4 separate regions of the Homo sapiens genome follow, and all the other regions are linked to region 3. The links are contacts of gene promoters, found by promoter capture Hi-C in human tissues and cell types (Jung and others, 2019). All regions are on one chromosome and are shown on one strand. Each heading gives the region's core, a stretch centred on a gene start or on the middle of the fragment in contact. The rest is flanking DNA. Distances are from core to core; before and after follow the strand shown. Region 1 overlaps NXPH1 (neurexophilin 1). Region 2 overlaps NXPH1 (neurexophilin 1). Region 3 holds the start of NXPH1 (neurexophilin 1). Region 4 overlaps NXPH1 (neurexophilin 1).

Region 1 (3,331 bases), core at 552-3,051, 200 kb before region 3:
CCCAGAGGGCTGTTGCTGGAGTTTGGCTATTGAGTGAAAGAGTCTCCTGAGTATGTAAGCACAAACACAATCCTTTTCAGGGTATAAATGAAGCTGGGCACAATTAGGCGGAAAACGATATCTTTAAAGGAAAAAGAAAGTCTATGCAGGCTGCAGTCCAACTTCAATAAAAATAAAAGAGAGAAAGAAAAACTTTACCCTTGGATAGATAAAGTGACCTTCAGTGGGTGTAGTGAAAGACATTACCTTTAAGCATCATATTTCCTGGATTCTTTCTCTCTCTCAAAGAACAGCACTTTTTTTCTATAAATAGGAGGTACAATTAGTACACATTTAAAAACCCTACCAGTTAGCTGAAACAAATGGGCAAACTATCCAAGTGTATATATTCTAAATTCAGTTGGACCAAACTTTTTTAATTGTCAAAAAAAGAAAAAAAGCTGTTTCATCTTTCCATTGGTTAAAGACGTAAATGCTTCCAAGAAACAATTCAGTAGAATAAAATACGATTTCTATAGGGGGTTGATCTGTTATTACATTTCTTTTTAAATATTTCAAATGCTTTTAGACCCGGTGTCATCACAGTCACTCTCCAACGTTCTGGCAGGTAATTGAGTGATGGTTCTCTATCTAACATATCTATCTTGATGCATCTTTATTTTCTTTTTTCTATACCCATAACATTGCCCTTAAGATTTAGCAGTGGTCTTGATAATGGAGGAAATACCAGAAACCAATCACTAAGATCTTGCAGAATTTAATAAAATAATTCAAAGGGTGCCCAAGAGATTGAATGCATTTATACCACTAAAAAGAGAAAGGTAGGAAAAGAAACTTGAAAGAAACTCTGAAGTTCTTTTGAGTTCAATAGCTGTCTAACCAAATAGAATGTGATGTGAGATTTTAGGGCAAAAGGCAACAAAGACTGCTGTGTGTTAGTTCTTAAAGAATTGTGCCTTCAGCCTGCTAATAGCTGTCATTCTCATAACCTTTGAAGAATTATGCACAGTACTTGGGCTCCAAGCTTACCTCTACCTCGGTGACATAGCATTTTTTTCCACTTGCAAATCTTATTCAGCACTTTAGGTTGCCTCTAGAAAAATGGCCTACGGGTTGACAACTTCAGACAGGTAAGATCTCTAGTCTGCTTTTGACAAATGTGATTAGAGATAGCTATTGTTCAAAACTCCCAGTATTATAGCTACATCATCAAATGTTGTTTGCACTTCCAGTAATATGTCAATGGTGAGAAGCAAAAGAGTCATTTCTACACACAGCAGAAAGTTATACAGAAATTATTATTCAAGTACTTTAAAAGTGTCTTGTGAAGGAGTTGAAACATCTGAATTCTGGAGTTCTCAATACTTATTCTTGGGGAAATTATCAGAGATTTGGGGCAGAGAGGAGTTCTTTACATCTGCATGCTTTCCTATTAAGTAAGAAGATAGATATAAACCCTATCATTTCCTGGGCCATTTCCATCTCAAAGCAAATCACATGGTGAAGTGAGGCTGCTCTTTGGAAAAAAAAAAAAAAAAAAAAAAAAAAAAAACTCTTCTGGACAATCTCTACCATGCAGATAACTGCAGAAGAAAGAACTCACTCCAAAGAATTTTATACCTCTTGCTTTGTAAGTTAATGCAAATCTGGCCATATCATAGGCCTGAAACACTCAGATGAGTATGATAGCAAAACAAAACAAACCTTATCATTATCCAGGTGTATTAGTCTATTTTCACACTGCTTTGAAGAAATACCCAAGACTAGGTAATTTACAAAGTAAAAGACTTAATTTACAAAGTAAATTAAATTTACTAAGTAAAAATGGACTCCCAGTTCCACATGGCTGGGGAGACCTCACAATCATGGTGGAAGGTGAAGGAGGAGCATAGGCACCTCTTACATGGCTGCAGGCAAGAGAACATGTGCAGGGGAACCGCCCTTTATGAAACCATCAGTTCTCATGAGATATTCACTATCATGAGAACAGCATGGGAAAACCCGCCCCCATGATTCAATTACGTACCACCGGGTCTCTCCCATGATACGTGGGGATTATGGGAGCTACAGTTCAAGATGAGATTTGAGTGGGGACACAGCTAAACGACATCACCAGGAAATGAAAAAATAAATAGAAATTGTCATGAGACAGATTCGATTTCAGCCTCACATCAGACTCAACTTTCAAACAATCAGAATTACCCTATAATGGAATAAATGACCCCATAATAGGAAGAAATCTCTATTTACAGATGCTCTTAAGCAAAGGTGTTTTCATAAATAAGGAAACTGGCCCAGCATATAACCTGGACTTCAAATTCTTAAGCAAATACTTCACACAAAAAATTGAAAAATATTTAACTTTACTACAACTGACAAGAACCTTCCTTCCGCAGACCTCAGTTTTGTCATCCACAAAAAGAGGGTTCAACTCAAGAGAGACTGTCAAACATGCATTGTTGTCAGCTCATGCAAGGTTCAGCTTGATGAACCATGGGCTGTATAAAAATTACGAATTCTTTTTTCAGGTCTTCTGGGTAATTGGCAATTATTTTTTGCAAATTGTTAAACGTTACTAAACATCCTGTTGAGTGGTTTGTTAAGTGTTTCTAAAGTTTGGGTTTTATAAATGAATGTTAGAAGATCATTAGAGCTTACTGAGGCTGAAATTCAGTATTCTACTGAGAAATTCGGTTGTCACGCAACACTGTAGTACAATGTGTGTGCGCTTTCACATCCGCATAATTCTAAAGAAGGAAACTCTATTGTGAGATCATCAACAAGGATGTCTTTTTTGAGATGGACTCTCGCTCTGTCTCTAGGCTACAGTGGCACGATCTTGGCTCACTGCAATCTCCGCCTCCTGGGTTCAAGTGATTCCCCTGCCTCAGCCTCCTGAGTAGCTGGGATTACAGGCGCATGCCACCACATCCGGCTTTTTGTATTTTTAGTAGACACAGTGTTTCACCATGTTAGCCAGGATGGCCTCCATCTCCTGACCTCGTAATCCACCTGCCTCATCCTCCCAAAGTGACGGGATTACAGGCGTGAGCCACCATGCCCGGCCTGTTACTTTTATTTTAATGATACATTATGGTTGTATTAACTTCATTATTAATTGATTTTATGTGAGTTTGGTTGCATGTAGAAGCACATGGATGCATCACTGATAATATTTGTAAAATTTCATGAAGTAGTTTCCCACATTCTCAACACATGAATTAATTACAATTTGAAAAAGAATCATCCATACTCTTGTGGCTGAAGTGATGTAATAATGCACAGAGCAGTAAATAATCTGCCCCAAAAATATATTTGTCATGTTTCCTTT
Region 2 (3,203 bases), core at 468-2,967, 140 kb before region 3:
AATATTTGTAAATTTTCACCATAAAAGAGTAAAGGCCATTCAGAGTAAAAAGAGAATTTTGCAGACCAGAATTGATTACTTTAATATTCAAGATTACTAGTTCATCTGGAAACATAACTCTGACCCTATAGGAGTTTATAATCTAATGAACTCAAGAGAAAAGCAACATTTCAATGAAGAACAACCATCATCAGTACAAGGAACAAGTCAAAAACATGGTACTTATCCTATCACATCTCTCTCCCTCACCTCTCTTATCTAATAAATCACTATCTCCTAGATCCTTTTTTTCTACTGTCTGTTCCACAAAGTCATGTACGATCTGGTCCCAATATAACTTTCCCACCTCACCTCACAAGACCCCTCCTAAGCCTACGTGTGAAAGAAGGCTGCAGCCTTCCTTCAGTCCTACATTACAGTCATTCACCACTTTCTTCCATAAGCTACATTGTCTAGAATGTCCCTCAGTACATCCTTTCATTCAAACGTACTTCAAGAAAGGTTTCCTTGCGCTTCAGTAGAAATTAGTTCTTCCTATTATACACATGATAGCACCATGTCTGTCCTTAATACCACTTATCGCAGCTGTCACTTTTATTCCCTGTGGAACAAGTCAGATAGCATTGATTGCCACATTCTCCTCACTCCTACCCCAAAGGGCATGGATGATGACTACTTTGGTCATTATTGTGCTCCCAGTGCCCAACACAGTGTTCAAGGCATAGTTGATGTTTGCTAAGTATGGAAACATGAAATGAATGGAGTTTTCAAACATATGCCTAGAATACAGTTAAGACCATGGAAGAGTTTGATATACTTGCTTAAGAAAAAGAAAGCAAATAAAAGGCATATCTCTCTTCATCAGTTCTTGTGTTGTTATCAGTGGCTAGAATAAAAAGAGATAGAAGCTATTCTGGACAATCAGAGAAGCAGGTATACCCATCCCCTATTGAGATGGGAAGTTTTTACAGATGATAAAATCTCTCTAATAATCTTGAAATATAAGTTTGTTGATAGCAGTTCTTTTTCATTTAGAAGGCTTTCAAGCACTCTATAAAGAAGGAAGAAACTGGAGAGAGAGGAAATAATGGGAAACTATGATCCAGCAACAGGCTGCAGAATATATCCACCAGTATCCATAAAATGGGCCTATACATAAGCCATAGCTAGCTAACTTTGACCAAGTAAGAGCTTATTTAAAAAAAAAAAAGATCATTGCCCAATGCCTCACCTTTTGGTAGAATTAAAGAAAAATAAAACAGTGCTTCACAGAAAAACAGGAAACATTATAGAAAATTATATTAAGTGCATAGGCCTATCCAGATAATTCAAATGGAATAAATCTATTCACATTGAAAATATGGAGCTTACAGAACTTATGTTCTTTCTGCAGAAAAGTTAGCAGCAGACTTTTAAGATCAGAGCAACAGCATTGACTGTAGGTAGAAGTAATTTCATATACTTCAACTCTTTTAAAAGAATTTCTATGCTTTCTATTCATTGAAACAAATTCTAAACATGAACTCCAAATTTCTATTAGGACAGTCACATATAAAACAAAAGAATTTTAATGAGTTTTCTTCCCAAAATACCCAGAGGTATAAATTCACATTAAGGATTAATGACCTGTCAGCTTGTACTTAAAGGAGAAAAAGAGACATTTTAGTTGTAGAAATTCAAAAATAAAAGAGTATGAAGTAAGAAAACTTATCATTTTTCCCTTTTGTGTCATAAAGAGAACTGACCTGATTTATTTGCTTTAAATTGGCCAAAAGAAAAATGGATTAGAGTTGGCCTTTTAAGCAAAAATTCATTCTGAGCAAAGTTTTATGACAAAATTAGAAGGCTTAGTCAGAAATACTCTTTTAGTCACTTAAAGGATACAGCATTAATGTCAGAGTCAAACATAATATAAAAGGGAGAAGCTATTTACATTTTAGATTTAACAGAACGTCTCCGACGAATGCTATAATGTCGAAGGAGTACCTCACTCTCTTAACCAAGCATGTCTGGTGGTAAGTGCCATAAAACTACTTGAATTGCTATTTCAAACCATCAGTGCATTTTTATCCCTATTTTTTAAAGTCTTATCTATTTCAAGTAAAAGTTAATGCTCAGTTTTCTGATTCATTTACACTTGATGCACAGCCATGCCAGAGAAACTCTATTTGAGGTCCTATGAATCTCTTTTCTTCCCTTTCGAATTGAGAAGGGATGTTGTGACAGCAGGAGACGGAATCCAAGGCTGAACAAGATCAAGTTGAATTTGAAACACAGAACCTTCAATGTTTAAATAGATTCTAAATTTGGAAGCTTTCATTGTCCCACCCACTAAGTACATGTGATGCAGACACCAGGAAAACAACCTGTGGTGTTGTTTGGCCTTCCTTCTCCATCTGGGGTTCCATCTTCCTTTTTGTGGGTATGCACTCATGTGAAAGAAGTTAACAGATTCCATCTTTTTCCTTCAGAAAGAGACAACCTATTGACTAGACTGAGCAATCTTAAACTGAATCTGTAATGGCTCCATAAAAACATCTATGTGATGAGAGAAAATAAAATAAAGTCAGTTCGAGTCAGAGTCCCAGCTACTTGGGAGGCTGAGGCAGGAGGATCGCTGGAGCCCAGGAGCTGGAGACAAGCCTGGGCAACATAGAAAGACCCCATCTCTTAAAAAAATGTTTTTAATTTTGAAAATTTAAAAAAACAGTTTTGCCTAGAAAATATAAAATAAATTTGAGTATTTTATTTAGCTTTTCAGATGAATATTTCATGTCATAGACAAACAGAACACTTAGGGAAAAGGTGCAAACCGTGTACAGATTTTAAATAGACAATATGTACCTGAATAGCCTTTTTATACCATTTTTGCTCTTCTGGTCCTGCTCAGAGCCTGAACACTTACAGGGCACATCATTAAGCTAGAAGGTCCTAAGAACATCTTAAATCCTCAATAAATCTTTATGACACTCACAGTTCTGTATACCACCAGAGTACACCTTTAAAGGTTTCCATGACATAGAATTGACCTAGCACTTTTTACCTTCCAGGAGCTTTATGTAGTCACTGACAGAAGTGTGTAAAAATCAATTTATGTTCAATAAGGTAAATGTCAATGATGTCTTTAAACATCAGGAGCCAATGGCATAGTTTATTTCCAGACATTCAAATTTTGATAGCTGATGACCTTAAATATTATTTGG
Region 3 (3,080 bases), core at 187-2,686:
TGCAATTTGCATACAGGAAAGCAGGGATCAGTTTACCCATTCGAACCCCTGGCGCACACAGAGATACCCACGAATGCTCACAGTCACATCTCTAGCACTACTTTTTTCGAGCCAAAGGGTACAGCCGGTCGCTAACTTCTAGAGAAGAAGCCTCCTCCGAGCTGTGAGGGTCACCTGCCAGGCTTGTTCTCTTTCCTAACCAGCGCCCCTCCCTGCCGTCCCTTCCTCGTGCCCACCACCCCGCTCCCAGGTGTACCCTCCGGGAACAGCGGAGGCAAAGGGTACGTACCGCACAGGACTTGGGGCGAATCCTGCGAGAAGGGACCGCTCTGGGCAGGCTCCATGGAGAAGCTACTCGGGCCTGGCGTCTCCAGCGCCCCGGACGTGCCCTCCCAGGCGCTCCGTCTCCATGCTCGAGCGCAGACGGGTCCGGCTGCCTCGTCCAGCTTTGGCGGAGTCGCCGTCCCAGTGCCCGGGTCGCGCTCAGGATTGGTTCGCGGGAGCCAAGGCTTGGCACAGTTGGATTCACGGTGCAGGAAACTTAAGAGGCAAGAGAGGGAGGGAGCAGTAGAGGAGGAAAGAGAGGAAGACAGAAAGGGAGGGAGAGCAAGAGGGAGGGAGAGAGGGGAATGCGCCGGGCTGCTGCACCGGACGGACTGGGACTGCCAGCGCTGGCACCCGGACGAACAGTCCAGGACTCTCGGCTTCCCACAGCTGCCTGAGGATGGTGGAAATGACTTAAGGGGAGGAGACTGAGCAAGTCCTCTGGACTTGAAGTGGAGAGATAAGACACTGGCCTTTCGGAAGAAAAGAGAACCACACGGCAGACGAGAGCAGTCCGAGTTTCTGAGGGAGGGGTGGGGTGGCGAGAATCTGGAGCCTGCGGCACACGGAGCAGCTGTACCTCTACCCGCGACGCTGGGAAGCCCAGGAGCCGGTCCCCAGTGGAGTCCCGGGCGCTGTCCCTGGTGCTGCCCGGCCACCCGGGGACGCTCTGGAGCGCTTTGGGTTTCCGGCGGCCGCGGTGGTCGTGGTTTCTCCGCAGAGCCGCGGCTTGGCACGCCTACCTTCCTGACACGGACAATTACTTTGGCACGTGGGTGAATGATTCCTCAAAGACTAATTAGTACCCTGTGTAAACAGATCCGGCTCTCAGGCTCTCGCGGGCTGGGCCCACAGGGACAAGTGGCTCCCGCGGTGTCTTCGGTGGCCGCAGCGCCCCCTTCCCGGGGGGCGTAGGGAAGATCGCAAAGCCCAGGGGAGTGGCGGGAAGAGCAGCCGGGAGTCGCGTAGGGCGGGGAAGGGCGCGGGAGGGTGCAGGGCGCCCCTGCCGGCCTCGAGCGCCGACGCCGGGCGCCTCCGACCTGTGGCTGCCGGGCCGGAGGCGGGGGAGCCGCAGACTGCCAGCCATTCAGCTCGAGACAGCCGAGAGGACTGGGCGACCTTGGCCTCTGGACTCCTCGCCGCCGGCTGGGCTGAGCGTGAAGGGGGAGGAGGAGGACGGGGGATGCTTCGAGCCGTCACCACCTCCCTCGCTACTGACACCTCCCACTCAACCAGCGTCTCCCAGACTCGGCCTCTGTGCTCCGACTCTGGCTGTCTCTGTCTTTCTCAGTCTCTCCCTTACTGTCCCTATTTCTCAGTATCTTTCTCACTCCCTCTCTCTCTCTGTCTCCTTCTTCTGTCATTCTTGTGGTCTGCGTCTCTGTCCCTCAGCATCTTTCTGCCTTTTTCTGCCTTTCTGTGTGTCTCACTCAGGATTTCTGACTCTAGGTCTCTGTATCTCTGTGCCTCTACCGTGTCCCTGCCATTCCCCCTCAAACCCTGTTTTGTTTTTTGTTTTTTTTCCTCCACCCTTCCAGTGCACCACCACCAGAGCAGTTTCACCAGTCTCGGGAGACAGCCAGGACCAGCTTCTTCTGGTGCTGGTGGGGTTGCCAGTGCTCCTTGAGCTTGCCCAAATTCAGGGCACAAATCGGAACCCGGAAGAGGGTATCTCTTCCCCAACCTTGCCCATTGCATCTCCAAGCCTGCCCTTCACCAGAGCCTCTCCTGGGGTGATGCACATATCCATATCAATCTGTAGGAATTGTATGGAAATTTATCTCAGGAACCTGAGTTAGTGACATCAAAATCGAATTGTGATATTTAATGAGTCTGGAATGTCCTTTCCTCAAGTGTGGCTGTGGACACTCTGGCAGGTCTGGGCCTAGATACAATGTACACTCTAGACAATAGGTCCCAGGCTGAATTCCCCTGGATGATGGAGACCACCCCTCAAACAAGGCAGTGACAATCAGCAGAGCCACCCAGTCCTGCAGCAGAGGCAAGAGGAGCCCCACTGAGACCTTCCCCTGGAATCAGATCTCCAAAGACCTCCAAATTAGATCCCCACTGTAGAACATACCTACCAGCACTTTGAGGTCTACACTCTCCCTTCCAGCTAAAAATAACTCTTTAAAGAGCAAGCTCTTCTAATCTTAAAAGTTGTACTCTGCTGCTGTGACCTCCTGGAATTCATTGGGGCATATGCAGAATAAAGCAGTGAAGCACACCTTCTAACTGTGTCTCTGAAAATCCACTTCAGAAAAAACGCACATGTACATATAGCATAATTACAATGTTTTCTTGACTATTTTCACTTACCAGCTATTTCATTTTCTTAAAAACTTTAAACTTTAAAGAAGAAAAATTAAAGTATTGGGGCACCCGTATCTGAGGCCAAATGGTCAAAGCAGGGGCAAAAAAAGCTTTGTCTAATTCCATCCTCTAGGATTCATAAGGCTATCCTAAAATTGATTCCTATTTGTACAGGAGCTCCCAGGCCTCCCAGACTGGAGTGTAGAGCTGGAGCAAATGTTGCCTGCCTCTATCTGGATTCCCAGCTACAATGCTGTCAGAGCTGAACTTCTGTCTGACCTTTGGGAAAATGAGAAAGAATCCGGCTAGCTTTGGAATATACCAAGTTCTTTTCTAAACCTTACTTTAAAAACATTCTGCTTCTAGTGCCATTTAGCCTTAAAAAAATACTGCTTGTGAAATAGAAAGATGATCAGAGACCTTAAAATGTCTGTCTGAAT
Region 4 (3,037 bases), core at 180-2,679, 170 kb before region 3:
ATATGAATTATGCACACAATAAGTCCACACCTAAAATCACTGATAGGTTCTTGTAAACAGTGATGTCAAGCAAAATGACTCTCATTTATATCATTTAAGCTGGGATAAAATTTGTTTCATTATAGAGTAGTCATTTCCCTTAAAGTCAAGTTTCCAAGAACCTATCAATGACATTAGGTGAGGACTTACTGTATATATCCCTGTTCTCATTTTAATGTTGTACCTAATTACACAAGTAATTTTTAAGTGTGATCAAAAACTCCCTAGTATACCTGTCAGTACTTACAATATGACTCTTTGGATTTTTATATAAATTATTAAAATTCCTTATAATCATTTGTCATTCATATCACACGAAAAATGGATTCTTCTTTGGAGTTTATTTTAAGTGAAGTTTGTGGTGGTATTTTGGTGGGGTAGTTTCTGTTATTAGTGTCATATGACGCACAAAAAAGTCAATGTTTTCAAAGCTGCAAATCAAGAAGATGCAAACCTCCATATTTTTAAAAAAATACAGAAAGGGCCATTTCACTTCCCTCAAATTTCTATATTTTACTTGTCTCTCTTCTCACTCCACCTCTGCCACTACCTCCATTCTTATTTATCTGTTAAAAATACCACTAGGCTGGGCATGGCGACACATCACTGTAGTCCCAGCTAATCAGGAGTGGGAGGCTACTGAGGTGGGAGGCTTGCTTGAGCCCAGGAGGCTGAAGTTGCAGTGAGTTGTGACCACTCCACTGCACTGCAGCCTGGATGACAAAGCAAGACCCTGTCTCAAAAAAAAAAAAAAAATCACTGAATTTTTAAGAATTTGTCCTAATGAATAATTCTTGGACTTTCAAGACTTCCATTTATCCCTGAGAACAGCTGATCACTTCCTCCTAACTAGCTAAGTAGTTAATCTATTATGGTTAATAATTCAAGTAAGAAATTTGTATTAGTTTCCTCAGGCTGCTATAACAAAGTACCACAAACTGGGTGGCTGAAAACAATGGAAATGTATTCTCCCACAGTTCCAGAGGGTAGAAGCCAAAATTAGGGAATCAGCAAAGCAGTGTTCTCTCTGAGACTCCGGATAGAATCCTTCCTTACCTCCTCCCAGTTTCTGGTGGTCACCACCAATCCTTGGCATTCCTTGGCTTGCAGCTGCATCACTCTGATCTTGACTTCTATCGCCACATGGCATTTTCCCTAGGTATGTGTGTGTCTCTTCTCACCTCACGAGGGCACCAGTCATATTGGATTAAGAGTCCACCTTACTTCAGTACGACTTCATCTTAATTTACATCTGTTATGACTCTATTTCCAAATTGGGTCATATTCACAGGAACCAGATGTTAGGACCTCAACAGATCTTTTTGGGGAACATATTTCAACCCACAACAGTATCCCATAAAGGCATAGCCAACACAATTATAACAAAGCAAAGGGGTCTAGCAACATATTCCCACAGTTCAATGTGAAAACCATCATAGCTGAGTATATGGGATACTCTATTTCCAGAGGATATAATAATGATTTTAGAAAGAAAAGAGTCAAAGTTATTTGCCAGAGTTAACCTGAGTTCTCTTCTTAGGCAGTTCTTCTAAGTACAGAAGTCTGTTGCATTAATAGCCAAGGGCAAAATGTGGTCTGTAGTAATTATACTGATAACATGATCAACTAATGAAGTTCATTAGTCTAGTTGATGGAAACAGGAATTTATTGACTTTTTTATTTGCCACTAGTTAGTGAGTACTGTATCGAGTGACACGATCCAAGAAAAGTATGAAGCCAAATGCATTCTTCTAGCAACTCATTGGTCTTAATTAAACTGTGCTTTTAACTCATTTAAGCAAAATCACCCAGAGCATGTAAAATTTAAACACCTATTTAAGCAATAATATATATAAGTACTGTATTAATTATGGATAGGCCAATTATTGCTACTAAATTTAAAATGTTCCAATGTGATTTCACACTGTTCAAGTTCAAACTTCGAGTTAATTTTGTTAATTTTACTATAATTTAAACTGTATTGGTCCCAGGATATATATGAGTCCAACCGTATATTTGTCCCAGGAAAAACTAGAATTAAAGCCCCAACTAAAATTATTCAATAAAATATGTCCTCAGATTACCAAATTTACTAAGAATAGGTTATATTCACAAAACATCAGAAATCAAGCAATCAATAAAATTAGTGGTTTGCTTTTCAAGGTAGAAATATATATCTAGAAAAAAATAAAAATATTTTCAAGAAACTATATGTTCTCATCATCTAATCCCAGCTTCCTACCAATTCTGTTTTTTTAGATTCTTCAGAAAGTAGCATCACTATCATGTCTTGATTTACAAATATCATTCTGCACATATTCACTGGACTAGGAGGATATACACTTAGATTTGAACCAAAGACCCTGGGCAAATATGTCAAGTTTACAATATGGCAGAGGCAATTCATTTAACAAGCTTTTGAAAAGGCAGAGTGAGAGGGCAGCAGTCCTGTATCTTTGCCCAGTACAAAAGGAGGGTCAAAAACCATGCCTTAACTTCCAATGCCTGGCAGAAATTTTATACTATGCTTGTTTCAGATGGTTTTCTTGATCCCCATTATGTTTTTAGCTCAGCAGAGGAAAGAGACAGTTTTTAAAATGTCACAGTGGGAAGTACTTTAATATTGAGTGGTAAATCCCCAGAGGCAAATGCAAAATACATCACATTGTTAACAGTACCTTTGAAGCAGGCACAAGATTGTTCAAACAAGTAACGTAGGTTTCTTTCCTTTGGTTGAAGTTGTATGTGGTTAGGGGTTACGTAGGGTGGGGAAAAGGAGAAGAGTTTTCCATAAAACATATTTTTTTTTATTCTTAGGTGTTTTATATTGTACTACAAAATATACAATTTTCCTCTCATCTTCTATCAATCTGTTCATCTGTTTCCTAAATGTAATAAAGGAAATTATATATAGAACAAACAGTGATGTTAAATTGAGTACTGAATACCTGAAAAGGTCAACTTGTCTGTTGTACTATGTTTAATAGCATCATTGTAG

The links. The method cuts DNA at HindIII sites, captures the fragments that hold promoters and counts their contacts. A contact is called where the count stands out against the background at its distance.
Region 1: a contact is called between a fragment that was not itself captured here and the fragment with the promoter of NXPH1 in region 3, in 2 of the 25 tissues and cell types used here (bladder and heart right ventricle).
Region 2: a contact is called between a fragment that was not itself captured here and the fragment with the promoter of NXPH1 in region 3, in 3 of the 25 tissues and cell types used here (bladder, dorsolateral prefrontal cortex and hippocampus).
Region 4: a contact is called between a fragment that was not itself captured here and the fragment with the promoter of NXPH1 in region 3, in 2 of the 25 tissues and cell types used here (aorta and bladder).

Annotation. Positions count from the first base shown.
Region 1 is chr7:8,632,887-8,636,217 of GRCh38, reverse strand. The region is part of intron 2 of NXPH1 (neurexophilin 1); the gene reads right to left. Among named protein-coding and RNA genes, the nearest start is that of NXPH1, 200 kb to the right of the region's middle. The HindIII fragment of the contact is 4,875 bases long and covers 1-3,331 here.
Region 2 is chr7:8,573,765-8,576,967 of GRCh38, reverse strand. All of the region lies in intron 2 of NXPH1 (neurexophilin 1), which reads right to left. All of the region lies in intron 3 of LOC105375144 (a long non-coding RNA gene), which reads left to right. Among named protein-coding and RNA genes, the nearest start is that of NXPH1, 140 kb to the right of the region's middle. The HindIII fragment of the contact is 6,342 bases long and covers 1-3,203 here.
Region 3 is chr7:8,431,965-8,435,044 of GRCh38, reverse strand. It overlaps NXPH1 (neurexophilin 1), which reads right to left and starts at 1,436. Exons shown (of 3, transcript NM_152745.3): 1 at 290-1,436. RefSeq lists enhancers at 1-324, 325-872. The HindIII fragment of the contact is 8,604 bases long and covers 1-3,080 here.
Region 4 is chr7:8,606,088-8,609,124 of GRCh38, reverse strand. The region is part of intron 2 of NXPH1 (neurexophilin 1); the gene reads right to left. All of the region lies in intron 2 of LOC105375144 (a long non-coding RNA gene), which reads left to right. Among named protein-coding and RNA genes, the nearest start is that of NXPH1, 170 kb to the right of the region's middle. The HindIII fragment of the contact is 5,461 bases long and covers 1-3,037 here.